Linked DNA regions of Homo sapiens: regions 2, 3 and 4 are each linked to region 1. The links are contacts of gene promoters, found by promoter capture Hi-C in blood cells and fetal thymus (Javierre and others, 2016). All regions are on one chromosome and are shown on one strand. Each heading gives the region's core, a stretch centred on a gene start or on the middle of the fragment in contact. The rest is flanking DNA. Distances are from core to core; before and after follow the strand shown. Region 1 holds the start of TOMM20 (translocase of outer mitochondrial membrane 20). Region 2 has its middle 21 kb from the start of LINC01354. Region 3 has its middle 23 kb from the start of IRF2BP2. Region 4 overlaps IRF2BP2 (interferon regulatory factor 2 binding protein 2).

Region 1 (7,567 bases), core at 1,650-4,149:
AGTAGAGACGGGGTTTCACCATGTTGACCAGGCTGGTCTCGATCTCCTGACCTCATGATCTTCCCACCTTGGCCTCCCAAAGTGCTGGGATTACAGGCGTGAGTCACTGCGCCTGGTCGATAGATTAGATTAGATAGATAGATAGATAGATAAAGATAGATAGATATAGATATAAATATATATAAAGACACACACACACACACACGTATATTTTGGAGACAGAGTCTTGCTCTGTCCCCCCAGGATGGAGTGCAGTGGTGCAGTCTCTGCTCACTGCAACCTCCACCTTCCACATTCCAGCAATTCTGCCTCAGCCTCCCAAGCAGCTGGGACTACCGGCGTGCACCACCACACCCGGCTAATTTTTGTATTTTTAGCAGAGTGGGGGTTTCACCATGCTGGCCAGGCTGCTTGAACTCCTGACATGAGGTGATCCGCCCACCTCGGCCTCCCAAAGTGCTGAGATTACTAGCGTTGAGCCACCACACCCAGCCTCAATTACCTGTGAACAGACTGCAAGATTATTCTAAATAAATTTTACAAAAACATCAAACAACAAAATATTTCTACTCATAAAAATATCTCATCCGGACGCGGTGGCTCACGCCTGTAATCCCAGCACTTTGGGAGGCTGAGACGGGCAGATCATGAAGTCAGGAGTTCGAGACCAACCTGGCCAATATGGTGAAACCCTGTCTCTACTAAAAATACAAAAATTAGCCTGGCATGGTGGTGTGCGCCTGTAATCCCAGCTACTCAGGAGGCTGAGGCAGAATTGCTTGAACCCGGGAGGCGGAGGTTGCAATGATCCGAGATCACCCCACTGCACTCGAGCCTGGGCGACAGAGCGAGACTCAAACAAACAAACAACAACAACAAAAAATCTCTAGCATTCATCAATTACCATGTGTGAGGAACAGGACTAAAACTCTACACTATACCATTTTACAAAAAGGGAAAACTAAAGCTTGAAGTTACTTGCCTAAAGTTACTGCTGCAGCTAAGTAATTCACTGTAATCATTAGGTTGCCGCTAAATCCAGAAAAAACAATTTTAGATTGAAAATGATGGAGAAGTTATTTTGAAATAACATTCCTCCATTTGTCTAAAATGATAGCTCTTGTTTCTGCAACAGGACTTCAGGGTTTCCAACGGAAGATAGGGTTAATCCATTCTTTATAACTCTGCATTTGTACCAAAGCCCCCAGCTGTCACCCATTTTGGCAACTACAGGACAATAACCCGAAGGCAGAATGACCACCAGCATTTATGGAGGAGCATTTCCTATGTCAGAAAACGTGGAAGGCAATTCAAACATCTCAACCTTCACAAGATCAACAAGAGGTAGGTGGCATTACCTGATTTTACAACTACAGAAATTAGGATTCAGAAACCCCAAATTATGCCGCTAACCTGGCCCTAGAAATTCAAGGTCTGAATGTAAAACAGTATTCTATTAGTCTGCCTAGTCATAAATCAAATTATGTCTATATCCCTTCCCTCCTAAAACATAAGAAAGCTGGAACTAGATGTCTGATTCTTAGTGCTAGTAAGATCAGCGCTGCAGTCACTGCTCACACAGGGCTACTGAACACTTGAAATGACTTAGTATAGCTGAATTAAACCGTAACCACTGTTACTTAAGTAAACAATAATCCCTTCTTTGTACCCCTTGGGCTTTAGTAACTTACGTATCAATTTTAATTCCAAAAACTAATTTGGCTGAACAACCAAGATAAGCCAAAAAATATTTCTTATTGCAACAAATTTGCTCTTCAATGATGCGAATGAAGATTCTCCGAAAATTCAAGGTGGATCACAACGGTTTTCATGACACGATTCCCCTCTGGTAGACCTCTCTTAAAAGATGTCGCAGGTATGAAATAAGACTGAGCCACGGGAGAAGCGCAGCCCTTTGGACTCCCCTGCAATTTCTATAGCATTCACTCATATCTTGGAAGCACTTAGAACGAAGCTACCAAGAGGGTTTAAGAATGCAGCAATGAGCCAGGCGGATCATCTGAGGTCAGGAGTTCGAGACTAGCCTGACCAACACGGTGAAACCCCGTCTCTACTAAACACAAAAAATCACCGGGCGTGGTGACGCCCGACTGTAATCCCAGCTACTGGGGAGACTGAGGCAGGAGAAGCGCTTGAACTCGGGAGGCGGAGGTTGCAGTGAGCCGAGATCGCGCCACTGCACTACAGCCTGGGCGACAGAGCGAGATTCCGTCTCAAAAAAAAGAATGCAACAATGATACTGCACTGAGCATGCGGATTTAGCCTCAGACTAAAATTTGCGACAAAAATGCACGACTTTTTAGTTAAGAGTAGAGGTTTAAAAAGATGAACGACAAAAAAAGAGACAACCTCCTCCCCAGGCCACACACACCCGAGATTGCAACAGAAATCAAGAGTGCATTTGCACGGCTAAAGTGTCTGGGGAAAACAAAACGGGAAAAATCCTTCCTCCAAAATGGAATTCCTACGGGGCACTAGAGCCCCCGGAGCGGCGCAGCCAGCGCCATCGCCTATTGAGGGCCGCACCACGCGGTCGCCCTGCGCGGCCCACAGGCTGGTGGGAGGCAATGACCCCTCCTGTGAAGGGCGGCGGCCGAAGGCAGCAAGCCTGGCCAGGGGAGAGAGGACCCACTCACGTTCTCGAAGCCTGTTCTTGAAGTTGGGGTCACTTCGTCTTTTGCGGTCGAAGTAGATGCAGTACCCAATGAAAAGGGCCCCGCATACACCGGCGGCGATGGCGCTGTTCCGACCCACCATCTTCTCTACAACGCTGAGCGTGGACGGTGGCGGCAGGGACCGCGAAGGAGCGGTGGGCCACGAACCCTCAGAGCGGTCGGCGCAGCTCACACCCGACGGCCGCGGGCCAGGAACACAGAAAGGCCGAGCACACGCCACTTCCGGTCCCAGTCAACTAAGGGCCTCGAGGTCGTCCGCGGCAGAGCCTGAGCAGAGGCCCAGAGCGCGGCTCCTGCGCCTGCGCAGTGGGCGAAGCCGGCGTTTCCCCTGCGCCGCTGGGTGTACGCACTGGAGTCGGGAATTTGCACGTGACCACGGACTTTTTTTCATATCCGCCGACCATGCTGTAACGAGGCGTACGCGTTACTGGCGTGCACGTACTCAGAAGACTAGCTGACAGCCTTGTTTGTGGCAGACAGAGATGCAGGGTCCCAGACTGCGAATGCTTCATCTTGTCTAACACAGGCAGCCTGTGACTTGTTTGAATTAAACTGTACTTTCTTTTCAGGTTGCCACAATCCATTGTGCGTAGTGGTTCCATTTCAAAAGAATGTTACAGGATAGCCTCATTTTATGATAACTGGAATAAAATTAAATGGAGTAATTTCTTGAAAAATATACACAATTGAAGAAAAAATAGAAAACGTGAATTGTTTTATAGCCACACGAAAACATACACATGATCAGGCCAGGCGCGGTGGCTCACGCCTGTAATCTCAACACTTTGGGAGGCCGAGGCAGGCGGATCACTTAAGGCCAGGAGTTTGAGACCAGCCTGGCCAACATAGTGAAACCCTGTCTCTACTAAAAATACAAAAATTAGCTGGCCATGGTGGCCGGGGCCTGTAATCCCAGCTACTCTGGAGGCTGAGGCGGGAGAATCGCTTGAACCAGGAGGCAGAGGTTGCAGTGAGCCAAGATCGAGCCACTGCACTCCAGCCTGAGTGACAGATCAGGAGTCCGTCTCAAAAAAACAAAATATATATATATATGATCTAACTTAAGATATTGACAAGGAAAATCGTGGGCAGAAAGCAGGCATTAAACAGACACTGTAAGTTGAGGGGTATCGAAGTCAAGCATCAGTGTCAAGAGACATTGGAACCAGAGCTACCTTACCTTGAATAGGGGCTGGGTAAAATGAGGCTGAGACCTATTGGGGCACATTCCCAGGAAGTTTGGCATTCTTGGTCACAGGATATTTACAGGGAAGGGAACAAGTTAATAATGTTTACCTAACAGACCCAGGAAATGTCCTGATGTCCTGATATCTTAAGAACAAAAGCATTCTTAGTTTAATTTTCCCTTTAAAGATAATATTGATCCTTGCAGAAGACAGTAGTTACACAGGATTAACAGTCCTTTGACAAAGACCAGGCAGTGTCTCACACCTGTAATCCCAGCACTTTGGGAGGCCCAGATGGGCGGATAGCTTGAGCCCAAGAGTTCAACACCAGCCTGGGCAACATGGTGAGACCCTGTCTCCACAAAAAAATTAAAAACTTAGCCAGGCGTGGTGGCACACACCTGTGGTCCCAACTACATGGGGAATGATGCGGAAGTATCCCTTAATCCCAGGAGGTTGAGGCTGCAGTTGAGTTATGATTGTACCACTGCAGTCCAAACTGGGTGACAGGGTAAGACCTCGTCTCAAAACAAACACACAAAAAATCCTTTGTCACAAGCTCTTGGAGTAGAGCTCATCTTCCTCATTTTTTTGCTGTTCAATACAAACAAGCCTTGTACCTAAGGTGGACATGTTCCTTCTCTTGCTTTAGGGTATGCACCATTCTACAAAGTAACCTTTCACTTTTTTTTTTTTTTTTTTTTTTTTTTGAGACAGTCTTGCTGTCACCCAGGCTGGAGTGCAGTGGCATGATCTTGGCTCACTATAACCTCCACCTCCTGGGTTCAAGCGATTCTCCTGCCTCAGCCTCCCCAGTAGCTCGGATTACAGGCATGTGCCACCACACCCAGCAAATTTTTGTATTTTTAGTAGAGATGGGGTTTCACCATGTTGGCCAGGCTAGTCTCAAACTCCTGACATCTGGTGATCCACCCACCTCGGCCTCCCGAAGTGCTGGGATTACAGGCATGAGCCACCGTGAGTGATCTTCTTTATTTTCTTAATAAACTTGTTTTCACTTTACTCTGTGGACTGGCCCCAAATTCTTTCTTAGGCAAGATCCAAGAACCCTTTGTTGGGGTCTGGATCTGGATCCTTTTCCAGTAACACGAGGTTGCATAATAAAGAATTTGGCTGGCCTTTGTCCCCAGTTCCTGGGAGTTCTAGCCCCTTGGAATTGATGAGTGATTCACTCCTGTAATCCTAGCACTTTGGGAGGCCAAGGTGGGAGGATCACTTGAGTCCAGCAGTTTGAGAGCAGCCTGGGCAACAAAGTGAGATACTGAAGCGACATCGTTTGGGGTAATACCCAAGGTTCATTGCTTCATGCCAAGGAAATCAAGAACTTGAGCACACACGGAGTAAGGTTAAGAGCAGAGGTTTAATAGGCAAAAGAGAAAGGAGGCTTGGGTGCAGTGACTCACGCCTGTAATCCCAGCACTTTGAGAGGCCAAGGCAGGTGGATCACCTGAGGTCAGGAGTTCGAGACCAGCCTGGCCAACATGGTGAAACCCCGTCTCTACTAAAAATACAAAAAATTAGCCAGGCGTGGTGGCAGGCGCCTGTAATCCCAGCTACTTGGGAGGCTGAGGCAGGAGAAGCGCTTGAACCCAGAAGGCAGAGGTTGCAGTGAGCCAAGATCACGCCACTGCACTCCAGCCTGGGAGACAACAGCCAAACTCCATCTCAAAAAACAAAACAAAAACAAAAAAACCTTCAAAGGTAGTATCACAATGTGAATAAACTGAGAATGTGGAAGTCTCCACATTTCACATACACCATCCATAAAGAAGTATAAAACTCAACACATGAATAGCAGACGATGCTATCAGCAGATAATAGCACTTTTATTAGCAGTACTCAGCAGGAAAAGAAAAAGCAGTTCCTGGTTGTTATTTCTGTTTTCTCTGTTTCTTAGGGCGTCCACTTTTCTTCTGTCCTTTCTTCTTCGTTTTAAGGAGAACAGCTTTTTCTCCAATAAATAAGCTTTTAGGATGTCCTTCTGCAGTTTTGGAAGTAAAATTAAGTCCCTGCTTAGGTTTACTGACATTCTTCAATCGTGGATTTGAATTTTGTTGTTTAAATTTTTCTTTATTAACAGAACGCATGACTCTGAGTTTTCTCCCCATGAGTTCAGAATTATTTAATTTCAGAGCAAGATGAACAGAATCTGTATTCTGCAAAAGAAAACACAATACATTAATTGCTACCAGAAACCCATCTGCAAAGAAACTAGTGAAAGTGTCACTTTAACAGATGAGAACGACTTTCAAGCTTGCACAGATAAGCCCCATCCAATCCCAGGTGTATCAGCTGCTGCACTCGAAGTCTCCTCATCACCATGCTCGTCACCAGTGTTTCCTCAGAAAGCACTCAAGCTGCCTTGTGAAATGTTCAGCTAAGTCACAATGCTACAGGCTTCGTGGTTTTTTTTTTTCATTGTAAAATGAGGTTCTAGACTAGATTAGTCATATGCAATATTGGCTTTTTTTCTTTTTTCTTTTTTTGAGACGGAATCTCGCTCTGTTGCCAGGCTGGAGTGCAGTGGCACGATCTCGGCTCACTGTGACCTCTACCTCCTGAGTTCAAGCGATTCTCTTGCCTCAACCTCTCAAGTAGCTGGGATTACAGGCGCGGGCCAACATACCCAGCTAATTTTTGTATTTTTAGTAGAGACAGGGTTTCACCACGTTAGCCAGAATGGTCTCGATCTCTTGACCTTGTAATCTGCCCACCTTGCCCTCCCAAAGTGCTGGGATTACAGGCATGAGCCACCGCGCCTGGCCCCCATATGCAATATTTTAAACGAATAAACCTCCTTCGTATAGCCATCTTTCTGTCAAAGCCCCATTGTATTAGCTGACCAGAGGGCAGGGAACGCTCCATTACGAGATGTTGGACTAGACACCCTCTAGGGTTCCATTTAGATCCAAAATTCTGTTATACTTCTGTTCCAATATAGAGCCATTAATGCTAACAACCCTGAATATCCATGAGATGTTTGTTAAAGGACTTTAGAAGCTTATCAAGTAATAGAAGAAAGGGAGCAGACAAGCAGAAAGGTAACTACAATACAGTAACAATGGCAACAAACGCTGTGACAATCTTTCTAAAAAAGCTACCAGGCAATTCTCATCAAGAGTCTTCAAAATGGTAACACATCTTAACCTAGTATATCCTAATGGGGATCTATCTTAAGTAATCTACAATCCAAACTTTTGGGGAAAAAAACATAACCAGGCCAGGCGGGGTAGCTCACACCTATAATCCTAGCACTCTGGGAGGCCAAGGCGGATAGATCACTTGAGCTCAGAAGTTGGAGACCAGCCTGAGAAACATGGTGAATCCTGTCTCTACAAAAAAATACAAGAATTAGCCAGACATGTGGCACACACCTGTAGTCCTAGCTACTCAGGAAGCTGAGATGGGAGGATCGCTAGAGCCTGGGAGGCAGAGGCTGCAGTGAGCTGAGATCGTGCCAAAGCACTCCAGCCTGAGCAACAGAGTGAGACTCTGTCTCAAAAACAAAAAACACATAACCACTGCAATTTCATTATTACAGGGAAAAACAGAGAATTCTACCAAGGTCCAACATGAGAGAAATGACAGTATAAACTCTGTTATATCACTCAATGGAACATGCTTACATAACAGAAAACAACATAAAATAAGATGTAAATATAA
Region 2 (7,567 bases), core at 2,736-5,235, 580 kb before region 1:
TTTATGATTTTCTTTTCTCTAACTCACTTTCTCGTGAGAATAGTGTCTAATACCTAGAACATACAAAATGTATGTTAATCAACTGATTATGTTATCAGCAAGGCTTCTGGTCAACATAGACTATCAGTAGTTAAGTTCTGAGAGAGGCAAAAGTTATATGTGGATTTTCCGCTGTTAAGGGGTTGGCGCCCCAACCCCCATGTTGTTCAAGGGTCACCTGCTCTTCCAGGAGTAAGAGCAGTGATGGATTTATGCACAGAGTGGCAGGAGACCCTGGAGAAGAAGCCCTAGCTCAGCGGGGAGACCAAGGAGGACAATGTGGAAGGGGCAGTCCTGAGTAGACCCTTAAATCCCTGGGAAATGGCAGGCTGTGTGCAGGCGTGATCAGACCTTCAACAGCACCTAAAGTTACAAGGCCCAGTCTCAGAATCCCCTGGGGATATTCAATCAGCATCTTGATGATTGACAAGATGAGCTTCAGCCTGTGCCTTTAACACTGCAGGGGCTGAGCCCCTCTAGCAGCATCTCCAACACCACCAGTGGACCAGCAGCCCTGGGGCCTGCCTGGCTTCTGCAGCTCAAGGCGCAATGGGAAACCACAGATGTCACAAAAATTGGCTCCCTTCCGCCGGGCGCGATGCCTCACACCTGTAATCCCAGCACTTTGGGAGGTCTAGGAGGGCCGATCACCGGAGGTCAGGAGTTTGAGACCAGCCTGGCCAACATGGTGAAGCCCCGTCTCTACTAAAAATACAAAAATTAGCTGGGCATGGTGGTGTGCACCTGTAATCCCAGCTACGCGGGAGGCTGAAGCAGGAGAATTGCTTGAACCCAGGAGGTGGAGGTTGCAGTGAGCCGAGATTGCGCCACTGTACTCCAGCCTGGGGCGACAGAGTAAAACTGTCTCAAAAAAAAAAAAAAAAGCTCCCTTCTAAGACAAGTGAAAGCATGTAGCATCAGGGAGATGTGCCCCATTATTATTCTGGTCATTGTTGGTTCTTACAAAGTTGAAATTTTAGCATCTCTCACGATGGCTCTTCTAAAAAGACCCCATGTGTTCTTGGGAAGAAAGGGCAGGCTGAGGCTGCCTTGAGAATCTGGCTGGGTCTGTTGGTCTAGCATTGAGAGGCTGACACGCCAGCCTACTGCCCCCAAGGGCCGGTTTCATATGCAAGTCAGGCACCGCCAGCCAAGTGGGAAAGGCAGCCCCAGAAGAACATGTTTCTGGTGACTGGGAAGCTTTGAGCAGACCTACAGCCCTGGCATAACGATGAGCCTCCTGCACAGGCAGCGGCGGCCGACAGCCAGGCAGGAGGAGGGCGGAGGAGCGGCGCACAGCCTCCACCAGAGCATCTGGGGGCTCAAGCCGCCAGAGAGCCCTGGAGACTAGGTAATGGAATTCCTAAACGGATGAAGCACTGAGCTCCAGACCCCTGTCCATGCCCAAGGACGGAAACATTGTATTTCTCCTTGGGACTTCAGGCTTTCCCCCTGCCTTTTCCTGTTCTTTCCAGCCGTTGCCTGGGCAGGAAGAGGCCTTTCCGAACAGACTTCTTTGTCTTCCACTTGGTCTGCCCCTCCAGGTCTCATCCGGGACTGTTCTGTGCCTCACAGATCAGAAACACTGTAGGGGTGACCAGCCCTCCAGCACTGTCTGGAACCATCCTTGGTTTTAGCTCTGAAGGTTCCTGTATCCTGAGAGAGGCCCTCAGGCCTGGGCCAACCTGCACCTTGCCCAGCTGCCCCCTTAGCCCTCAGAGCCAGGTTGAGGTACTGCCCAAGCAGCAGTCATGTCAGGATTCTCCTTCCACTTCCAACAAAGAGCTCTTTATGTCTTAGCCAGCAAAGGACAAGGCTAGCATGGGCATTTACCCCACTGCCTCAGCTGCCTCACCAGGAATGCAGGAGATGCAGATGCACGGATGAGAAAGCTTTGCCTGTCCCAATGCACAGCGATGCCTGACGCTGCCTCAGAGTACCTGTGCTCTGCCCATCCAGCTTCTGGTCATCCGAGGCCCAGGTCCCAAAGGGGCGTGGGAGGAGATGGTGGGAGAGACAGCTAGGCCCCATGCTGGACACCTGAGAGGGAGACCCTGGCTTTGTGTTGAGGTAAGTTCGAGAGATCTGAGACTACCCTTGACTGTGGATCGGCAGTAGTAGGAATCTAACTCGCTCTCTGTCGTTGTTTTTTTTCTTTACACCGAGTCGTGCTCTGTCGCCCAGGCTGGAGTACAGTGGTGCAATCTCAGCTCACTGCAACCTCCGTCTCTCATGTTCAAGCAATTCTCATGCCTCAGCCTCCCGAGTAGCTGGGATTACAGGCGCCCACCACCATGCCCGGCTAAGTTTTGTATTTTTTAGTAGAAATGGGGTTTCACCATGTTGGCCAGGCTGGTCTCGAACTCCTGACCTCAAGTGATCCACCTGCCTCGGCCTCCCAAAGTGCTGGGAAAACAGGCGTGAGCCACCGCACCTGGCCTCTGTCATCTTTTTTTAGAGACAAGTTCTCGCTCTGTCACCCAGGCTGGAGCACAGTGGTGTGATCACAGATCACTGCAGCCTTGAATTCCTGGGCTCAAGTGATCCTCCCACCTCAGCCTCCCTGAGCAGCTGGGACTACAGACACACGCCACCACAGCAGGCTAATTTTTAAATTTTTTATAGCGAGAGGGTCTTGCTGTGTTGCCCAGGCAGGTCTTGAACTCTTGGCCTCAAGCAATCCTCCTGCCTCAACCTCCCAACGTGCTGGGATTAACAGGCAGGAGCCACTATACCCGGCCAACTCTCTTTGATCTTAAACCAAAGAAATGAGATTTCTCCGAAGCCAGAGTTATAAGTGATGGGGGTCAATTGTGAGGAACTGAATGGATTTAACTGTGAATGGTGTAGAACTTATTCTACAGCACACTAAGGTCAAATCAGATCTGTATTCTCCTACGCAAACAGTAGGAAATGTGGGAGATTATGTGATACTGAAAAAAAAAATGGAAAAGGAAAGCAATTCATTTTCTTCACTGTTACAAAACATCACTTTTGTGTGTATAAACCTGGAATCAATTATTCAACTTCCCTTATGGATAAAGCATAACTTGTAATAAACAGCAAAGAGGGTTGTTCATTTCACTTAATGATAAATAAAATGATGTTTGACCAATTTGATGAAGACAGTAAGTCAAACTTAAATGGTCGGGCATTTTATGTTGCTGAAACTACTAATCTTATTAAGAAGCTTTTCACATTTAAAATATGCAAAATGCAAGCAAAATTTAGTAGAGAAAGTAAAGTTAAATATTTAATGACATAATTAAGTCTTATTAATGGTATGTTCTTTATTTTGCAGATTAAATATTCACAACGATTATCATCTCTTTCATCTTTATTACTTAAGCAATGTGTTTTTCATAATTATTTGTTAGGTATTTTCATTAACATTTGATGAATATTAATAGTTAAAATAAAAAACAGTTTTTATTTCTGTTGTAATGACTTTATGGTGATCATAATATGTAAGTAAGTGTTTATAATGTGCGCTACTGGTTAATATTTAGATCACTGATTTTTTTCCACAGAATAGAAACGTGGATATTTATGGGTGATAAATGGCAATCATCACATTCTTCCATTACTCTTTATTTATTTATTTAATCTACTATTCTTAATGTAGCTTCATTGTGGGAGACATATGAATTGCAAGCTTACAATGAAGGCTAATAAGTAGAATTTTAGGTTGAGTCCCACTCTTGCATTAATAATGGTTTGCCTCTCTTTTTAGATGTACTGATTCATTTCCCATTTTTACCTCATTCCCCTCACGGATTTGGTCCAGCAGAGTTAGATGGCGCTGGTACCTTTTCCCTCCATGACCTTTAAAGCTTAGACTGATGGCCTCACAGATATTTTTCTTCGGGGACAAAGGATGAGGATTTTCCATCCCGAACAACATGAAGCAAATGCGCATGGATCTCCTGATTTTTCATTCAGACAGTGATTACAGAGTAAACAGCACTGGGTCAGATCAGCGTGCACGGTCAATGTGGCCTGCATATGGTGACTATCCCTCCCTGCACCGTGTGGCAGCCACATTGTCCTGACCCACTGGGAAGCTTGTCACTTCCAGAGCGGCCCAGGAGATGCATGTCGACCATCCCCACTTCAGGCTCCCACGTGGCAGGCTGCAGACCCCTGGCCAGGCTTTTTTTCTGAAACCTTTAGTGGATTTTCCTTGAGGATGACCGACAGAATGATGGTGATGTATTCTAGTCTCATGGTCAGGCCTGCAATCACATTTCGAAGCAGCCTCCAGATCCCTGCTCAGCATTCTGTGACTGACGCGGGTGGAGGCATTACAGTCCAGACAGAGTCAGTGCTAATCAGAACAGGATGCCCTTTAGCTTCCTCGGGAAAGCTTTATCTCTTTAGCAGGAGCTATCTGCATTTTTAAAGCCACAGCCTGTTGGAAAGAGCTCCGAACCACAAAAATGTACAGCAGGGGTAAGCAGAGTTCCTAGCCATTAACCACCTCCAGGCAGTTAATCATTTCAGTTTAGAAGAACCCACGTTCGCTTCAAGAGCAAGTATATTCTGTTGGAAACCTACTATGTTGGGCTCTTTCGAAAGCTAGTTCTGATTCTCACAATGCCCTGCTGAGCGGACGGGAGTCCCCCGTTGTATGGACAAGCAGATGAAGCTCAATGAATTAGTTGACTGCTCTAAGGTCTCATGGTTGATCTTGGGCACAGCTGGGGTTCGAAGCCCGTTCTTTCTGGCTCAGAGTCCTGTGCTCTTCTCAGCAGGATGTGACGCTACCTCCCCCACTGCCATTTTTCTGTGTGATTATATGGGACCCAAGCTCCAGGTAAATCTGATTGTTAAGAAAAAGCCCCAATATACACAGAGGCACAAGAAAAAGGAATAGATCTCACCCTGTTGGTGAAGCCAATGCGTGAACCTAATGTGCAGAAAGACACCACTGACGTCTTCCCGGGCCCCTGCCTCGCATCCTTGCCTTGCTGACTATTTGGCCCTGGCCTAGAAAATACAGTGCTCATTCTCAGACGTGTATGTGCAAGTGTTTGTCTCTCCAGCCAAGCTGTCCTCAGGTCCTTAGCCGTCTGCGTGTTCCCCAGCTCTCTACAAACAGCTATCCTGGAATAGCTAAAACTGAGATTTTAATAATGTGTGCTTAAAGCATTTATGCTAAAAAAAACTTGCCAGTTCTGGCCATTTCCAGTAACAATATGTGCTCTCATCACTGCTAAGAGTCTGGCAATGAGCAGATGATGCTACTGAAAGCAAGTGAAGACAGTGAGACAGGGCTCAATCCATGCCATGCCTCTGAGAGCCTAGGAGTCATGGCACAGCGCCAAGAATACCCCTTCAACATGACAAGCAGGACTCAGTTTCCCCCTTTTGAGCATATCAAGGAAAAACATATGTAAGGGCCTGCGCAGTGACTCACGACTGCAATCCCAGCACTTTGGGAGGCCGAGGCGGAAGGATTGCTTGAGGCCAGGGTTTGAGACCAGCCTGGGCAGTACAGCTGGACCCTGTCTGTACAAAAAATTTAAAAAAATAAATAAAAACACATGTGGACTCAACAAGGACAAATATGGACTCCTTGCACCCTGGGGTGAGCCGGGAGGGGCGATGCAGTCCGCACCAGCCAGGACCGCACACGTGGTGACATCAGGCCTGCCTTCCCTCTCATCTGTAATGTCTCTCCTTGTCCAGCCTGCAATGTGACCATTGTTTATTACCTATTGAGCCCCAGCACCATATTTGGCTCTGCAGGCAAGATTGATAGATTCTTGCTGTCACCAGCCGCACTCTGATGGCAGCTTTCCAGGCCTCCTCCTCACCCCTCCCCCAGCCCCACTCCACCTTCCAACAACCCCAGAGGCTCAGAACAGGCCTCCCCACCAGCAAGGCTGGCACAGACCCTTTTGAAGAAGCCGTTTCCAGGAGAGGAAGGAGCTGAGGATGGATGCCCAGCCGGCCTCCATGCTCAGGAACTGCCCACCCCAGTGAATCGTCTCTGCCCTGGAAGCTGCTGACAGCAGTAGGGGCCTTTCTGGAACCATCTCCCTCCCAACCTGCCTTGACTCTATGCATCTTCAGAGGAGAGAGGATTTGAGTCTCATAGGCCTGAGATACACAACATTCGGTGGGAGGGGAAAGCCTGGATGTAAGGGTCAATTATACCGCCTTATGGGGAAAAAAGTATCCAACTCGGAGTCTGGAATGGGAATGACACACAGCTGGAGACCATTTTCATCAGGTGACCTAAGGCACGCTGCTCCAGCTTCATGGTGACGTGATTCTGTGTTGGTGCTATGGAACCACTGTGGCTTCAAATAAGGAAGGACACTTTGGAAAGCTGAAAGGCAGTGAGGTTGAGGGACTGTGTCCCAGTCATGAGACTGAGGTGATGGGTCCTTGTTATGTCACCCACAATCGATGTCACCTTAGGTGTTGTGCCCTGAAACTCACTAACACCCGTCACCATGTTTACCATGACCAACCCAGGAAATACCTGTTTCATTAACTCAACTGAAGAGGAAGACATTTCGAGAACCAAACCTGGAGACTAAGAGCCTGAAATTGCTGATTAATGGGTCAAATCAGCACCTATGGTGTGCCAGGCACTGTGGCATTGTGGCACTGTGCCAACCCCTGATGTGTTTTGTTTTTTTTTTTGTTTTTTTTTGTTTTGAGACAGTTTCACTCTTATTGCTCAGGCTGGAGTGCAATGGTGCGATCTCGGCTCACTGCAACCTCCGCCTCTTGGGTTCAAGTGATTCTCCTGCCTCAGCCTCTCAAGTAGCTGGGATTATAGGCGCCCGCCACCACACCCAGCTAATTTTTGTATTTTTAGTAGAGATGAGGTTACACCACATTGGTCAGGCTGGTCTCAAACTCCTGACCTCAGGTGATCCACACACCTCAGCCTTCCAAAGTGCTGGGATTACAGGTGTGAGCCACGGCACCCGGCCTGATGTTCTTGAAACAGCAACTCCAGTCCCACTCTGGACCTGTGAAGCTCACAGTTCAGTAGAGGGGTGTGGTGGTTTTTCCAGCAACAACCAATCAGTTAGATTCTCCAACACCATCTGGGTGTCCTACAAGTCAATTCATTTCTGACACTAACTACCCGGATTGAGCCCAGACCCCACAGATTAAGGGCTCAGCCCAACTAAACAGCTCCCATTTCAGATGCCAGCCACAAACAGGGTCCCATGTGCTATGGTGTGAATGTCTGTGTTCTTCTGAAATCCATGTTGATACCTATTCCCCACTGCAATAGTGTTAAGAGGTGGGGTCTTTGTGTGGGGATTGGGTCATGAGGGTGGAGTCCTTATGAATAGGACTCTTAGGAAAGAAGCTAGAAGCAGCTCATTCACCCCTTCAGCCATGAGAGGACACATAGAAGTTGCCGTTGTATGAGGAAAAGACCCTCACCAGACATTGAATCTGCTGGCACCTTCATCTTGGACTTGCCAGCCTCAGAAGAATGAGCAATATATTTCTGTTGTTTATAAATTACCCAGTCTGAGGTTTTGTATAGCAA
Region 3 (7,567 bases), core at 2,917-5,416, 540 kb before region 1:
CAGGATACCCTATTCATTAAATATATGCTCAAAAATGTCAGTCCGTATATATTTTTGTGCTGCTCATAGTTCACAGACATACACTAAGCAAATCCAGTGTGATCTGGATCGCCGGGCTCATGCTCTCAGCCCCTAGCTCTGTAGTCCTTGTTCTTGTTCACATGCAGCAAGGTTTTCTCATCCATAAAATGGGGATAAATGTGCCTGTTCCCTAGAAGTTGGCTCTAAGTGATATGTGGCACTGCTTTGAAAATTAAGAGACAAAAATCTGTGGGCTTCTTTCGCTTTGAGGCACTCTTTAAATATGAGCTATTATCCTAATTAAACTAAATTTTCATCATGGGGTCAGTTTCCTGATGAAGTTAAATGGGATGATCCAAAGTCTCTATTAATTTGCTACCAGTCATTGTATTTGGAGACCCTGGGGGATCCTGAAAATTGATTAATTATGACAGGCCTGATGGTATATTTCTGGGTGATTATGGCAAGCCTTGGATGGTATTATTAGGGATGCCCATTTTTATGTGACAGTGAAATTCATAGGCTTTAACAGAAGTACTATCATCCCACTAGCAGGGACCAGGCTGAAGGGCATGTGACTTAGCAACTGACAAGTGCAATAATTCTCAGAATTTTGTGGCCCAGAATTTGCGCCGGCTACTAAGAACTGGGAGTTTAGAAACAGAAAGTTCAGGTTACAAGCCTACTGGGCAGGAGCTCAAACTCCTGGTTCTGGCAACAGGTCCCGGGCACTCGGGGGTGGGCCAAGGTTCTGACCATTCAGTGTCCTATGTTTAAATTGTGAGACTGTAAGCAAAAAGAAAAAAAAATTATTGGAAGGGTTCTCTTACCTTTTGGAGACAGTAAAATAAAAATCTCCTTTGGCAAAGGGCCTCTTTCTTCTGTGGGCTCTCCTACAGGGCAGCACTGACCTCTGGTCTGCCATGACCCCACCTCTCCAGCTGCCCACACATCCATCTTCCAGTGTGTGTGTGTGTGTGTGTGTGTGTGTTTGTGTGCGTGCGCGTGTGCGCCGTTGGAGGGTGGGGGAAGGAGGGAGTATATTCTTGTTCAAATTGCCAGATTAACCAGAAAATTAGCAGGAAGACAAGGCAGCAAAGTGAAAACTATTCTGTACAGTAGAGGTTCTTCATAGATCATTCGACCTATTAATGAAGTTACCATTTCAGCAGCAGGTATTTGAGTTGAGTTGCCAGGGGAGAGAAGGAAAGAAGGGTATAGGCAACGCTGCTTAGTCCTCGAACTCACACGGAACATGGAGAGCTACATTCTTAGTAATACCAGGGATCGTGCAGTGAGCATTTCCTAGGCAGCAGACACAGTACAACACACTTTACATAGCTCATCTCATTCAATATGTACAAAGTCCTTATGAGACTGGTACTAGCTTATGCCCAGTCTACAAAGGGAACAGAGACTCAGAAACTAATTTGTTCAGGATTAAATAGTGAATCACGTTGTGGACACATAATTCAAATCCATTTTTTTTTTTTAATGCCCAAACCTGGGCTGTTAGCAACTTTGCTAAGCTTCATTCCTTTTCCTGCACCTCTCCCTAAGCCTGCAGCCATGCATCTAGGACTCAGGGATATCTCTGGGTGGGGGTAGAGGTGAAGTCAGGCAGAAGTGTCAGGGATGAAATGTCACAGTGTTATTATAGACCTAAGGACTGGCCCTAGAGGAGGGGGCTCCCATCTCCTGGCTCCTTTCCAAGCTGGTAAGAGCCTGGCAGTCATGCTGGAGAGACAGGGGGGACATCTAAGCTGCTGAATGGAGTTCAAGTCTCCACCACCAGGGAAAGTTCTTCTCTCAGGGTCTTCCTTGCTTTCTCCTTGGACCCAATCTGTCCGCAGGAAGCAGAATTGCTGGAGAGCTTGCCTTTAATTGATGCTTGGTGCTTAAAAGAATGGTATCTGGCCCGCAGCCAGGAACCTCTGCGGGGAGATGTGAGCTTACTCTCTGGAGTCCTCTCTCTCTATGGCATCAATTGATGAAAATAAAATCTGCATTTCGTGACATTACTATATACCCATGAAATAGGATTTAAAAGGGTCCTGATTGGTGAAAATAAAAATGAGTCAGTTCTCATTTGCTCAGTTTTACCCTTCAATTCAAAAAGCCTGTGCTCTGTATCTTAGCCTCTCAGAGGCCACACCAGATTCTTGTACGGTCTGCTCAGCCTCCTCAAACTGCTGTGACAACAGCCCTGGATTCTCGGATACACTGACACATGTTTCTAACCCTCAATCCTGCCACCCTCTGCTTTTGCTCCTCCTGCTGAGAATTCCCAAGGGAAGAGCTCTGAGATCTTGACCCTCTTCAATCCCAGTTCAACACAACATCCCTTTGGTTAATTTCTGAGAAAATATCCCAAGTGGTTATTTCAGATAGTTTTCTTGGACTTACTGCTTCTGTCTTGAGTTCTGAAAGTCTGCGTATCTGTGCCCTCCTGTGTAGGCTGGGAGCTTCTTGAGGGCCTGGCTTCTTTCTTTTTGCCCTGGCACCCAGCATAGTGCCTGGTGCATGTGAATGATAAATCACGCGTGTCGAATGCATGAGTCAGTGGGGGAATGAATGGAAAAGCACTGCTTGGACAGCACAAATACAAAAACGGATCTACAGACTACATAACCAAAAGACTTCTCTACACACACATCCTGAGCACCAAGGAAACTTCTGTTTGGGCTGCTGACCATGAAATCTACTCTGCTTAGTTGCTGTGTTCATCTTCGTCCTCCAGTCTGGACTCTCAGTCTCCCTGACCCAGAACTCCTCGGCCCCAGCTCTGCTCAGCCCGACCTGGACCCTCGGCAACCTGGTCCGTTTCCTGTCTGATGTTCTTTAACATCACCCACTACCACTCTTGGCCAACTCTGGAGGTAGGGGGAGGAGAGGAAGATCTTCTTCTGCCTTGCGGCATGTCCCGGCATAACAGAAAGTCATTCTTATATGCTCATCTAGGCATTTAGACTTCTTCCAAGATTGGGTGGTGCTTCCATTCTCATAAACGACCCACATTTGCAACCTTGGAGTCATCGTTGAAGCCCCCTTCTTGTCCATGCCCTTAAACAGGTCAGATTCTGAGTCGTATCAGCCCCTTCTTTGAAATGTCTCATCTGCTCCTTCTCTGCTGCCATCCTGGTCCAGTTGCTCAGAATTGGGTTATCTTACTGGCCTGTTGGCAGCCTTAATCCTATCCCCGCCTTGTTCCAGGGTCAGCTGCCTGACTTGCCACTGTCATCATGGGCCACACTGAATTCTTGGCCCCTCCCTGTGCATGAGTTTCTGGGCCCCTGGAAGTTTCATCTTATCCTATTTACTTCCCATCACGTAGACAGTCCTTCATGCTTCCCAAAATATAGGATGCTAATTTCTGTCTCTTTGTCCCACCGCTCATGTCCCTCCTCTCAGGTCTCACTTGAGTCTGTCTTCTCCATGAAAACTTCCTTTTCCCTTTCACTCCCCTCTGTAACCACCATGCACCCCTAATCCAAATCCTACCGCTCCACACCTGCATGCGTACTATCTTACACTGGGTTCATAATTGAGTGTGCATTAGCTTGAAATTGCCAAATAGGCTCATAAGTTCTTTGGGAACAGAATGTGAATCTTAACTTGTGTTTCTCGCGGTACCTGCTGGAGAGAAGAACTTACATATTATTATGCTTGGGTTCATGATTGACTAACCTTTGCTGAAGAAAATTGGGGAAAGTGTTAGTTCACAAACATTATACATATTTTGCTTGGGAAAAATGAGGGCTTGCAATGGGGATTTTGTTGACATTGGCTGCTGCTGCTACTTTCATTTCTGCTTTTTCTTTCTCCTTCTCTTTCTCCTTTTCCTTCGTGTTAATCAAATCTCTCTCTCTCTCTCCAGTCCTTTTGCTGTAGGCTATAAGACTGTTGGATCATAATAACAATCTAAAATCTCCAGTACCACACACGTAGGAGGCACACAATAAATGTTTGTCAAATGACTTAATCCATGAAATATTTTATATCTAGAATCCTTAAAATCCCATAGCAGTGGCTGGGCGTGGGGTTCACGCCTGTAATCCGAGCACTTTGGGAGGCCAAGGGCGAGCAGATCACGAGGTCAGAAGTTCGAGACCAGCCCGGTCAACATGGTAAAACTCCGTCTCTACTAAAGATACAAAAAATTAGCTGGGCATCATGGCATGTGCCTGTAATCCCAGCTACTCAGGAGGCTGAGGCAGGAGAATCGCTTGAACCTGGGAGGTGGAGGTTGCAGTGAGCCGAGATTGTGCCACTGCACTCCAGCCTGGGCAACAGGGTGAGACTGTCTCAAAAAAAAAAAAAAGAAAAAGAAAAATCCCATAGTGGTTAAGCCAAATACCTCCTTTGTTTTTAATTCCTAAACCCAGAGCTTTCAATGTTTGAGTATCCTAAGCACTACATCCATTTCTATGTGTTTCTCTATTCGCTCCTCTTTCTTCCACTTCTATTCTGCTCTATCCAATTTTCTGCTATCCTCTTAACAGTGATTATTTGGCTTTCAAAACATCCTCTCATGAAATAAAGTTCCATGATTATTAATTGCAATTGTTGGACATTATCATATTTGCTATAGCAAGAGATAATCCATGAAGATTAATCAGTGTGAAATGTGCAATTTATGAAATGACCTTTATATACCCTAAGGAAAAAAAATTAACACATTAATAGAGATGAGTTTGCTGGTGCATTTGTTACTAGACTCTCCAAAGGTGATCATACATATTTCTAGAAATCACCTTGCCTTCGGAATTGGAGCCCCAGATTCAAGGTATGTGTGGTCTCTCATGTTTCCCCTAAACCACACTGTATTGAATTTGAATAATCAACCTGCATGTATAACGGGGCTGTCAATGAGAGTTAATTAATAATGTCACATGGCAGGACATTGCATGTTGTTGAATCACACTGCTACCTGCCACAGTAGAACTGAGGGACCTATGTGAGTGCCCCTTGAGAAAACCTAAATAAAAATCAGGAAGAGGAAATAGAAATATTCCATTGACTATTTAGGTCCATGCATAGATAGTATGTATTTTAAAACTAAATAATTTATGTTTTCTTTGTGATAGCGATTCCACATTTTATTCAGCATAGCAATCATGACAATTGATTCATAAAAGCAACATTGCCCAATCAATGGACTAGAAATACAGTCACTGTGAATATAAATTCTTTCCTCTTCTAACGATCCCAAGCTAATCATTTCAGCTCTTCTGGCTCGTTTTCCTGATTAAACCAGGAGAATAAAGACAACAGTAACATGTGACTCCTACATTAGCAAGCTAAGCATGAAGAATGAGTATAAACCCGTCTGTAAGCAAAGGGGTTTGGGGGATTTGTATAATCCATTCCATGGCACGTCTTAACTAATATTCCCTGTACTGATAAGGCCAAAAAAAAAAATGTAACTCTCAAATAGCAAAAAGAAGAAAATGGGATTAGAGTTAGATCAGCTTCACTTTATAACTATAAATAATTTAAAGCAAGTCGCTCGGCTTTGCCTCAGTTTTCTGTTCTGTAAAAGTGTTTCTTAGAGGCGGTTATGAGGATTAAATGACCCGACAGAGGCAAAACAGCTTTGTAAACCATAAATCATTTTGTTCGGAGTCAACAGGATGACTTTTTCCCCTCACACAATTTAGAATTATGTACCTGTTGAGGTAGCAACGCCCTCGTTTAATCCCAGCCATGTTTGGTCCCCAAATGCCTCTCTCACTCGCCCAGAGTGATACTGAGGCCACAAAAAGCTCTGCTGTTTTTTTTTTCTCGTGGTCTTTCTCAATTCCAACGTGGTACACAGGTACCTGGCGTGTGTCTGCTCAGACAGTGGATGGCCCTTGTTCAAAGACTGATGGGAACACCTAGTGTACGAGGTGGCGCCGGGGCCGCCCACACCAACAGGCCGTGTGCTCCCATCTCACTGTGCACGAGGAACCGGTGTGCTTTTCGGCCAGGCTGCATCACCCTCCCTCCCTTGGCTTTCTGTGTGACGTGCCTGTGCCAGAGACTGCAGTGGCAGCACAGTAAAGAGGGAAGAGGCCTAGAGAGAGGGCGGGGTGGAGGAGGCATTTTACAACTTGCTAAGATGTGTCTTCCCACCTCAGTTGTTGGTTTTTTAAACAAAAACAAACTACAGATCAAAAATCTCAAAGAACCCCCTCTTCTGGGCTGCCCCAACTTGTCTCTAAGCCACCTTCTTCCTTCATTCTTTGTCCCTGCCAAGCCACTAATCAGAACAGCGTGAATCATGCACCTCAGCTCTGGGTGGCTCCCAGCAACATCCCAGATCCCGCAGTTGTAAAGCCAGCTGCTAGGAGTTTAATCCTGTTGAGGTGAGCACTCCCTGTGTCAGAGGGAGGGGCAAACAGATCAGGGACAAGGACATCTGAAGTGAGCACATGTCCACCAGCCACGACCCCACTCTGCCATGCTGTACTGATACTGCCCTGATATCCACACAGGGAACACCCTTCTTTCCAGGCAGCCCTGCTTTGGAGGCTGATGTGGAGTACTAAGTTTATCTCCCAATATCCAGGCCATTCCTCAGCCACTGTGCAGCAACCATTTATTGTGGTGGGACTGATCCTACTCCCAATTGCAGGGAAAGACTCCTAACTAGATGCCAGTCAGGGCAATCCCATGCCTTTGCCCTGGGATTGGTTAGGGCATGGGCAGACCTGAGCCAATCAGAGCAGAGCTTTTCCTTGCCCACGATGATGATGTCGGGACTGAGCCAATCAGAGGGAAGCTTGGGACTTGTTCTAAAAGGAATGCTCTGCCCTCTTTCCTCTTGGATGTGAAAGAGAAAGTGCATCATCCTGTAAGCAGGAGGGAAGCCTGCCTGAAGATAGTATCAACATAGTGAAGGTACAGACACGAGAATCAGAGAGAGAAGATGCTTAAACCTTAAGCAAGTCAGACCTAGGGTCTACCTGACTGTAGATTTTATTAGTTCCCAGAGCCATTAAGTTCCCTTTATAGTTTAAGCCTATTTGAGTAGGATTTTCTGTGATTTTTGCCCTTGAAAGCATCGCAACTGGTAGAGGCGTCATTGTCTGGGGATGGAAAAGGAAACTTGGAAAGTGGCCATGATGGTTAATGTCATGTGTCAGCTTGGCTAGGCTATGGTGCCCAGTTGGCCAAACACCAGTCGAGATGTTGCCTTGAAAGTATTTTAAAATGTAATATTTAGATCAGTAGACTTCAAGTAAAGCAAATTACCCTCCATAATGTAGATGGACCTCATCCAATCAGCTGAGGACCTTTAAAACAAAGACTGAGGTTTCCTGAAGAAGAAGGAACGGGACCTCAAGTTTACAGCATAAATGTCTTGCTTAAGTTTCTAGCCTGCAGATTTTCAGACTGAAGACTGCAGCATGAACTCCACAACAAAATTCCAGCATGCTGGCCTGCTCTACAGATGTTAGACTTTCCAGTCTCCACAATCACATCAGCCAATTCCTTAAAATCGGTCTCTCTCTTTCTCTATCCTATTGGTTCTGTATATTAGTCAGGCTCTGGAGAGCCC
Region 4 (7,567 bases), core at 3,357-5,856, 520 kb before region 1:
TAAATAAAAGTTTCTTGATAGAAAGTAAACTCATTTTCAGGCAGTCAGTTGTTAACAGTACTCTGGGCAGTTCCCATAGGGGCATGTCCTGAGGTTTGCTTAATAAATACATTTTTATTAGCATGCACCATCCATTAGTGCTAACACAGATGCTTCTTAAACACGCGTGTTTACTTCACCAGCACGGAACATTTGGCTTATTATAGCTGCAGCCAAAAAAAAAAAAAAAAAGCAGCATCATGATTTCCAAAAAGGGAGTGACATTTGATTTGGGGCAGCTCTTGTCATGCGCCATCTCCAACTTAGAAAATCCACCCTGTACAGCCCGGCCCGCGTCAGGGACCCTTGCAGGCGGCAGCCACGGCTGCTGCTGACGCGCGTTTGATCTTTTCTGGGCCACCGAGGGCTCGCCACACCCCTGCTCTGGCGCGCACGTTCCTCGCTCGGCCTCGCCCAGCAGGAGCCAGACCTTTTACTTTATTTGGTTCACCACGCGGTCTCTGCTCCAGAGAGCGCGCCGGCGGCGGCGCACTCGGGCCCTCGCGCGCACTCGCACATTCTTCCCCGGGAACGCGGGCGGGGGGCGCGAGGAGGTGGCCGGGCCCGGGCTGCGGTCCCTCTAATTATAGCCCGGCAGCTGGCGCGCTGGCTTGGCCTGGCGCTCGGGGCCAGGACTGGGCGGCGGAGCGGAGGGGCGGGGCGCACCGGGCCGTTTCCCGTTTCCGGGCCCGCGCCCCGCCCCGTCCCGTCCCGTCCCGTTCCGTTCCGTTCCGCCCCGCCCCGCCCCGCCCCGCCCGGGGTCGCGCGGCTCCACGTGCGCAGAGCCGGGCGCGCGGAGACTGCGCTGCTCCAGCCCGGGAAAAGTTCTAGAATAGAGGCGCGGCGCAAGTCAGGGGGCCGCCTTGGAAACCGCAGCAAGGGCTCCTTGTGGGCTCCAGGCTGTTGGAGAGTGAGGGAGCCTCCTCCCCTTTCCTTCCCGTGGAGTAAACAGAGCTTGGCAGGGCTGGAGGCTTTCTTCCTTTTAAAAAGTGCCATTCTGAACAACGATACAAAGTGAAAAAATAAATTTTTTAAAAAAGAAAGGGAAAAACTACAATTTGACCATTCTGACCAGCCTCCTTGTTCCAACTGGCCTCTTGATTTGTATAAAGATAATGGGGTCCGGCGGCCCCCTTGATGCATGAATTGCACGCTGGGCATAATGAACTTATTGTGCGAAAGCACTTTGGACTTCGGACTGTGTTCCTATGTCAGAATTTTACTGTGGTTTGTAAGATAAACTGGAAGGAAACAAACTCGTGGTTAACTCTTGTCAATACGTGTCTTGAACCAAGCAAAGTGACATTTCCTACCTGTGGCTTTGACTTTAAGCTGCACAAAAGGTAGGAGCTAGCCTCTCAGCTGTTCAAAGCCTAGAATGAGATGCCTGCTTAGTAGGTGTTAAATTATAACAGCAACAACCCATATGGTGCTTATTAGGAGAATAGTATTCCAAAACTTCTCTAATGACTGTGACCCTCCTGTGAAATTCTGATTTCAATTGTATATGGGGTACAATAAATCTTTATCTTTTATCACCAGAAAAGCTAATTGAACTGCTGTTTGCAGGCAGAAATAACAAAATGGGGGTAATGGGCTCTTAGCCTGGGCTAAGACTCTCAACAGCTTTTTTCTGTTTTGCAGCTCACACATACAGTCGGCTCAGGCAGACGGCCCAAGACAAGCCTGTGCCAAAGAAATGCTGATTTAGTCTGACCCAGACAATCTCTACTCCCACATGTCACTTCTCTGCAGAACTCTTACTAGTATGGCAAATACTTTAAAAATCATACAATAAAAGAAGGCAAAACCTCAGTAATTTGAGGTTCACTTTTAATAAACTCTTTCCATGCATTAAAATAAATTGAGGCCCTGAGCTCTGGCGAAATGTTTCCGGGTTTTTAATTCCCACCGCCCCCCCACCCCGGAGGCATAAATAGCCACATACGCAATTCAAAGTACTCTATTTGAACTAGTATAGGAAAGATGTTTTCTATAGATATTGCAGATAAATTTGCAATGACTTAAATATTTATCTGCTAAAGTTGCTGAGTGCCTCCACAACAAAACCGAACTCATTTTTTGTGCACGATGGGCATCTGAATGCTACCTGATGGTGATGATATAGAAATACTAATTGCTAAGTAAAAGTGGTAAGTGATGTGATCTACAGATTATGTAATGTAGTTCATTTCCCCCAAAATGTAAACTATATTTAGAAATATTCAAATGTGACATTATTACCCTATACAGGATGTCTTATCTCAGCATCAAGGGCGTCTGTAGAGCTGCTGGAGGAGGCTCTTTAGATTACGCAATCTAACTTCTGACAGCCCATTCAAAGGATGAGAACCGGTGCCTTGAAGCTCTCAATTTAAACTAGGAATCCTGTAGTCTAGTCTCTAGACTTATCTGACCTAGGCAGAAATCATCTCCTAGAGGCTTTTCATGGCTGATTTTGTGATGTTTTACTTGCACTGAAGATTTATTATTCCATGTTTTGAGTTAGTGTTATACAGTGCCATTCTATATATTTTCCAAATAAATGTTTGTCTTACAGAAGAAACTGTTTATACCATTCTAATAGGGTTGTTTAATAAGGAAATTTTACTCAGTTGGGTTTTGGATTAAAAATAAAAGAACAGCTTTTAAGATACAATGTCTAAATGATTCTCAATAATGATCTGTCTATGGTATAGTTACTTTTTGTCCTAAAATACCTTTTCTGTGGGTTGTATGGATTGTTTTATGTTGTGCCAGGCAGATGTGCATAATTTTCTGATTAAAACCAGTGCAAATACAGACTTCATATTCTATAATCTTTTAAAGAGACAAGTTACACTTCAAATCAAACAATCAGAGAGCTGTTTCAAATCAAGCATTTTAAGTTAAGTTGTATTGACATGGGGAGGGAGCAGATGACACACCTAATGAGTTAAAACAATGTTCACTGTTAAATTAGGTATAAATTAATGTAATAACTAGGGGTAGTGTGGGTATCCCTGACAAATTATGGATTTATCTGAGGATTAATGGAGGAATCCACAGATAATCCATAAATCTACCCATTTTCTATCTTCTAACCGCTTAGCGAGTAATTTATAAATTGTCTATTTGTGTGCTTTTTAAGTTACAGTGAGGGGTTCAGACATATTAAGGAAAATGCAGGCTGTCAAGAGAAACAGCAACAAGGGATCTATAGAGTTTGTAATCTGGAAAGTCACACCCGTAATTTTTATTTGATTGTAGTACCATTGCTGTCAGAGGCCTAACCAGTGGCACTGAAGGAGTTAAAACAGTCCCCACCCCCACTCCCGATTTCTAGAACCCCACGATAAATTGGGTAAATATGTATTCCATTCATTGGTGCATCTGACCTTGGTCTGTGACAGAGGAAAGGCGTGTCTTCTCATACTGTTCCCTATGAACAAAAGGCAAGCAAATGAGGGTGACTCAGGACTTCTCATGGCCTACACACAACTGAACATTTTTCTGAATGATTCCACGTATACACTTAGGAATCAGGAAGAGAAACATTTTACTCTTCACTAACCAAATAAAACCATCTATAAATCATATGCAAAACAACTTTTGAGTAAAGAGGGACTTAAAAGTCTAGGAATTAAAAAAGGATTTCCATAGTTTCCTTTTAACTCTCCCCCAACTCCCCTTTGGGGAATAAACAAAGACATCTGCCACATCAAGAGTCTGGTTTGTTTTCTTAACTGAAAACGAAATGCAGTCATTAAAGTATATCTTTGGGAAGAGGTTTTGAAATGTTGAGAATTACTTCTACAAGCTGCACTATTTTCAATTTCACTAAAAATAAAATTTAGCATTTTTGTTACAAAAACATAGTTCATCCTATTTCTTTTAACCTAGTTATTACATGAAAAATTGTTTATCATCTGTAACTTGCTAAGAATATGGTTTCTTGAAAACCTTAAATGGACTAATAATGAAAAACTATTAAAATATATATAGTGATGGGCCCCTCCTAGTTACCAGACCACCCTAGTGTAAATATATTCAAGTACACATTCACTGTTGCTGTTTAATTTAAAACATATAGTAACTCTATGTATATCCTAGCCTCCAACTCTTTATGAGTTTCACAACTTCCTTTCATAGAGAAGTCTGCCAAGCCATTAATCAATAAAAAGAGTAAAAGCTGCAACATCTAGGAAATTTCTTATTATATGAGAGTAGCCAGTAAAATGTGTCTCAGTGCTTTCTACCTTTTATCTCTATTTATAAATTTAAGTTTCAGGATATCAATAAAGCTCATACATGGCTTTGGCTTTTTTCATTCCTAAGCTTTCCAAAGTATAAGGCTTTTTTTTTTTTTAAATCCCTTTTGTCTTTAGCGCATTTCCTATGGCCCAACGTAGCTGTTTTATTCCAAAGCTTTTCAAAGAGCAGCTCCAGGTCTTGAGAGTCTTTCCAGTGTCGTCACTATCTTCTCTTTCCAATCTACCATTGCAGAATGGCTGGTTCTGCTGCTAGTTGAAAAATAAACAAATGCTTTCTAGCCGTACTTTGTTCAGCTCTTTTATCTGTGTCCCCTATCCAGTTGCCCTTTCCGCAGTCCCTGGCACTTCTATTTTATACCATCAGTTGCCTTTTTGTTCCATGTCTTTTATCTCCTGAAGTTCAGGCAAACCCCAACCCCAAACCCACACATCCTTTAGTCACATTGCCATTAGTGATTAAAACAATAGCCATTCTAAGCTTGCTTTAGAAAATTAAAAAAGGCCTCAGAAAATGTTCAGTGCTCCCAATTTTATTTTTATTTAATGCTAAAAGTTAAAGAAAAAAAGGTACTGTAAATCTGACAAATGACAGAATTCAGGTGATATTTCCATAGCGTGATTTTAAAATATAATAATGTTGGTATCTGAGATTACACTCACTTCAGTTGACATGAGTTTCATCATATATAGAAAAAGTATCACCTTCAACTTAAAAAAAGTAAAGGTTAAAAGGTGGCACACTTTTAAAATACTTGGTGGCCAAGGAAAGGTATATAGTAAAAGTTGTAAACCATGTGTATGTTCTCATAACTTTAAATGTGAGGCCACATGAAAGACAGTACATCTGTTAAATTCTATAAATTGTTAAAAGCAAAAAAGGGAAAGCTTCAACACCCCATCCCCTAATATTTTGAGTATTAAAAGCACAGCTGAAATATTAGGATTTGAAATCTGATACTGCCCATGTACAGTAAGTAGCTTTGTGACATTTTTATCCAGCTGTGGAGAATCTCTGCACTGTCATCAGGTACAACAAAAGATCAAACCCATGTCCCGATGTTAACTTTTTAACTTAAAAGAATGCCAGAAAACCCAGATCAACACTTTCCAGCTACGAGCCGTCCACAAAGGCCACCCAAAGGCCAGTCAGACTCGTGCAGATCTTATTTTTTAATAGTAGTAACCACAATACACAGCTCTTTAAAGCTGTTCATATTCTTCCCCCATTAAACACCAGTACAGAGAAACCACAGGTTGCCCTTTCCACAGCTGGATAGACTTATCCAAAACGGCAGGATGGTTCTGTATTAATCTTTTTGGAAAGCATGTCTGTATTAAGATTGCAAAACATACAGATAGCTACCACAAATTAGGTCAAACGACTGATCAAGTTGTAACATCTGTGAGGTCAAATTCCAAAGTGCCTAGATACACATTTATACAACAGACCATAAGAGCTGAATTCTTTACAAATGTCTTTATGGGCATGTAAAATTGACTCTGCATTTCTGCATGTGTGCATTCACATAAGAGAGACCAGTCTGCACTGAGTCATATATACTCCAACTTGAAAAAGTAAGTGTAACAACTGGTTAATCATGCAAGTCTGTTTGTAATATAACAATGACTGGTAAAACATGAATTCTCGCACAGTAGTAATAGGTGCACTCATTAAAAACACTACGGAAAAACACTGTATTTGGTGCAGTATCTGATTTTCAAGTGTTAGTAACTTGACCATTAAAAAATAGTTTTGAACAATTTAAAAAGGAAAGACAAACATATAACTAAAAAAGAATCCAAAGTTGGTAAAAATCTGTATTTTCAAATGTAAATAGAAGCTAGGCTGTGAACCATACACATAAATTGTAGACCTTGAAGCCATAATTCAGCCTAATTATAAGGCCAAGTTACAAACACCTGAACGTAAGGATTTAAAATAGTGTTCCTGTCAATGTTAAATCATAACAGCACAAAAGAAAAACCAGTATCACTGTGAGACAACTATTTCTAATAATTGATGATTTATTGGTTTTAAAAAAATCATTTTACTGATGCAAAATAGTGATCAAAAGAAATTAGTTTACAAAAAGACTTCTAAAAATATTTTGAGAGGTGGGGCCTGTCTATTATATAAAACCCTTAATTTCTTTAATTTCCACTAGTTTATCATTTTTTTCCAGAACAGTATTATTCACTTGGTATTTCAAACACATGTTAAGAAGGAAATTACAGGTTTCCTCCACCCACATTTGGGCTGTCACTGATATGCCCAAGGGCAGTCCTGGCAGCACCACGCGGCTGTTACTGTCATTGTACCATACTGTATTCAGCACTCACTAGAAACAGGGTATAGGTGATAGTATCAACAGCAATAGCACTACAGGTAAATGATAAACAAAACAAAACAGAAACAAAACCAATCCCACAATCTCCAAGTTCACCTGGACTGTAACTTCTCTTGCAACTCTTTCAAAATAAAGGACAACAGCAACAACAAACAGACCTCTAGGGTGTTTAAAAAGATGAAGTGGCGCTGCAGAGCTGGGCTCTGCTCAAAGATGGCAGTGCCATCTTGTACACACCACCATCCATTATAACCGCCTTCCATCACTGGAATTGTATCTTATGTAACCAACTAGCATGCAGCATTGTAATCTTACAACTGATCACGTGGACAGTGAACAGCGGTCAACTTTGTCTTAAAAAAAAAAAAACAAAAAACCCCAAAAGACCACACAATCCTGAAAATTTCCCAGCAGCACTCTCAGTCATCAGTATCTCAGGAACTGAACTTTTGAGCAAAATAGAGATTCAAAATCCACTTTCCTACTCCTCTGAGGACAATGTTTCAGGGTAAACTGGTGGTATTTCCCAGTGGCATGCCCACTTGACAACATGCCCGTTCGATCATTTCCTTTCCTTCTCCACCACTTGGCCTCCGGCCTGAGAAAGGGGCCAGCAATAAGGAATGACAGACAGTAAGGCAATCTTACAATGTCAGAAAATGTATTTGGCTTTTTTTTTCTTTTTAAAATAAGTGCATACAAATACAGCTAGAAGCATTTCTGATTTGCCAAGTGCTCTAAAAAAGCAGCGCAAGTCACAGCCTACATAGAACGGTAACTGTCACCAGGATAATAAAGCACAAAGATATGCTAATAACGTTAACAAAAGAAAAAAATGTCTTTATAAGTACATACCTTTTGTCGTCAAAAAAAATATAGAAACACAATGTATTCAAAAAAAATCAAAATTATACAGCCATGTTTATG

The links. The method cuts DNA at HindIII sites, captures the fragments that hold promoters and counts their contacts. A CHiCAGO score of 5 or more calls a contact.
Region 2: a fragment that was not itself captured here is called in contact with the fragment with the promoter of TOMM20 in region 1 in 1 of 17 cell types (total CD4 T cells); the score reaches 5.2 in total CD4 T cells.
Region 3: a fragment that was not itself captured here is called in contact with the fragment with the promoter of TOMM20 in region 1 in 6 of 17 cell types (neutrophils, activated CD4 T cells, total CD4 T cells and 3 more); the score reaches 8.3 in neutrophils.
Region 4: a contact is called between a fragment that was not itself captured here and the fragment with the promoter of TOMM20 in region 1, in 2 of 17 cell types (naive CD4 T cells and total CD8 T cells). The highest score is 6.4, in naive CD4 T cells.

What each region holds. Positions count from the first base shown.
Region 1 is chr1:235,125,938-235,133,504 of GRCh38, forward strand. It overlaps TOMM20 (translocase of outer mitochondrial membrane 20), which reads right to left and starts at 2,900. Exons shown (of 5, transcript NM_014765.3): 1 at 2,658-2,900. The coding sequence starts at 2,778. SNORA14B (small nucleolar RNA, H/ACA box 14B) reads right to left here and starts at 2,000; the gene lies at 1,866-2,000. It overlaps LOC105379283 (a long non-coding RNA gene), which reads right to left and starts at 2,264. Exons shown (of 2, transcript XR_949295.4): 1 at 1,692-2,264; 2 at 982-1,032. It overlaps RBM34 (RNA binding motif protein 34), which reads right to left. Exons shown (of 11, transcript NM_015014.4): 11 at 5,246-6,060. The coding sequence ends at 5,776. RefSeq lists enhancers at 2,628-2,847, 3,078-3,177. The HindIII fragment of the contact is 4,902 bases long and covers 966-5,867 here.
Region 2 is chr1:234,549,259-234,556,825 of GRCh38, forward strand. No RefSeq gene overlaps it. Among named protein-coding and RNA genes, the nearest start is that of LINC01354, 21 kb to the left of the region's middle. RefSeq lists silencers at 4,056-4,263, 5,645-5,939. The HindIII fragment of the contact is 231 bases long and covers 3,871-4,101 here.
Region 3 is chr1:234,583,270-234,590,836 of GRCh38, forward strand. No RefSeq gene overlaps it. Among named protein-coding and RNA genes, the nearest start is that of IRF2BP2, 23 kb to the right of the region's middle. RefSeq lists enhancers at 529-673, 5,421-5,921 and a cis regulatory region at 596-606. The HindIII fragment of the contact is 5,237 bases long and covers 1,549-6,785 here.
Region 4 is chr1:234,599,463-234,607,029 of GRCh38, forward strand. IRF2BP2 (interferon regulatory factor 2 binding protein 2) reads right to left here. Exons shown (of 2, transcript NM_182972.3): 2 at 4,807-7,567. Among named protein-coding and RNA genes, the nearest start is that of IRF2BP2, 6.9 kb to the right of the region's middle. RefSeq lists enhancers at 1-402, 403-916 and silencers at 460-989, 1,390-1,439, 3,325-3,494. The HindIII fragment of the contact is 324 bases long and covers 4,445-4,768 here.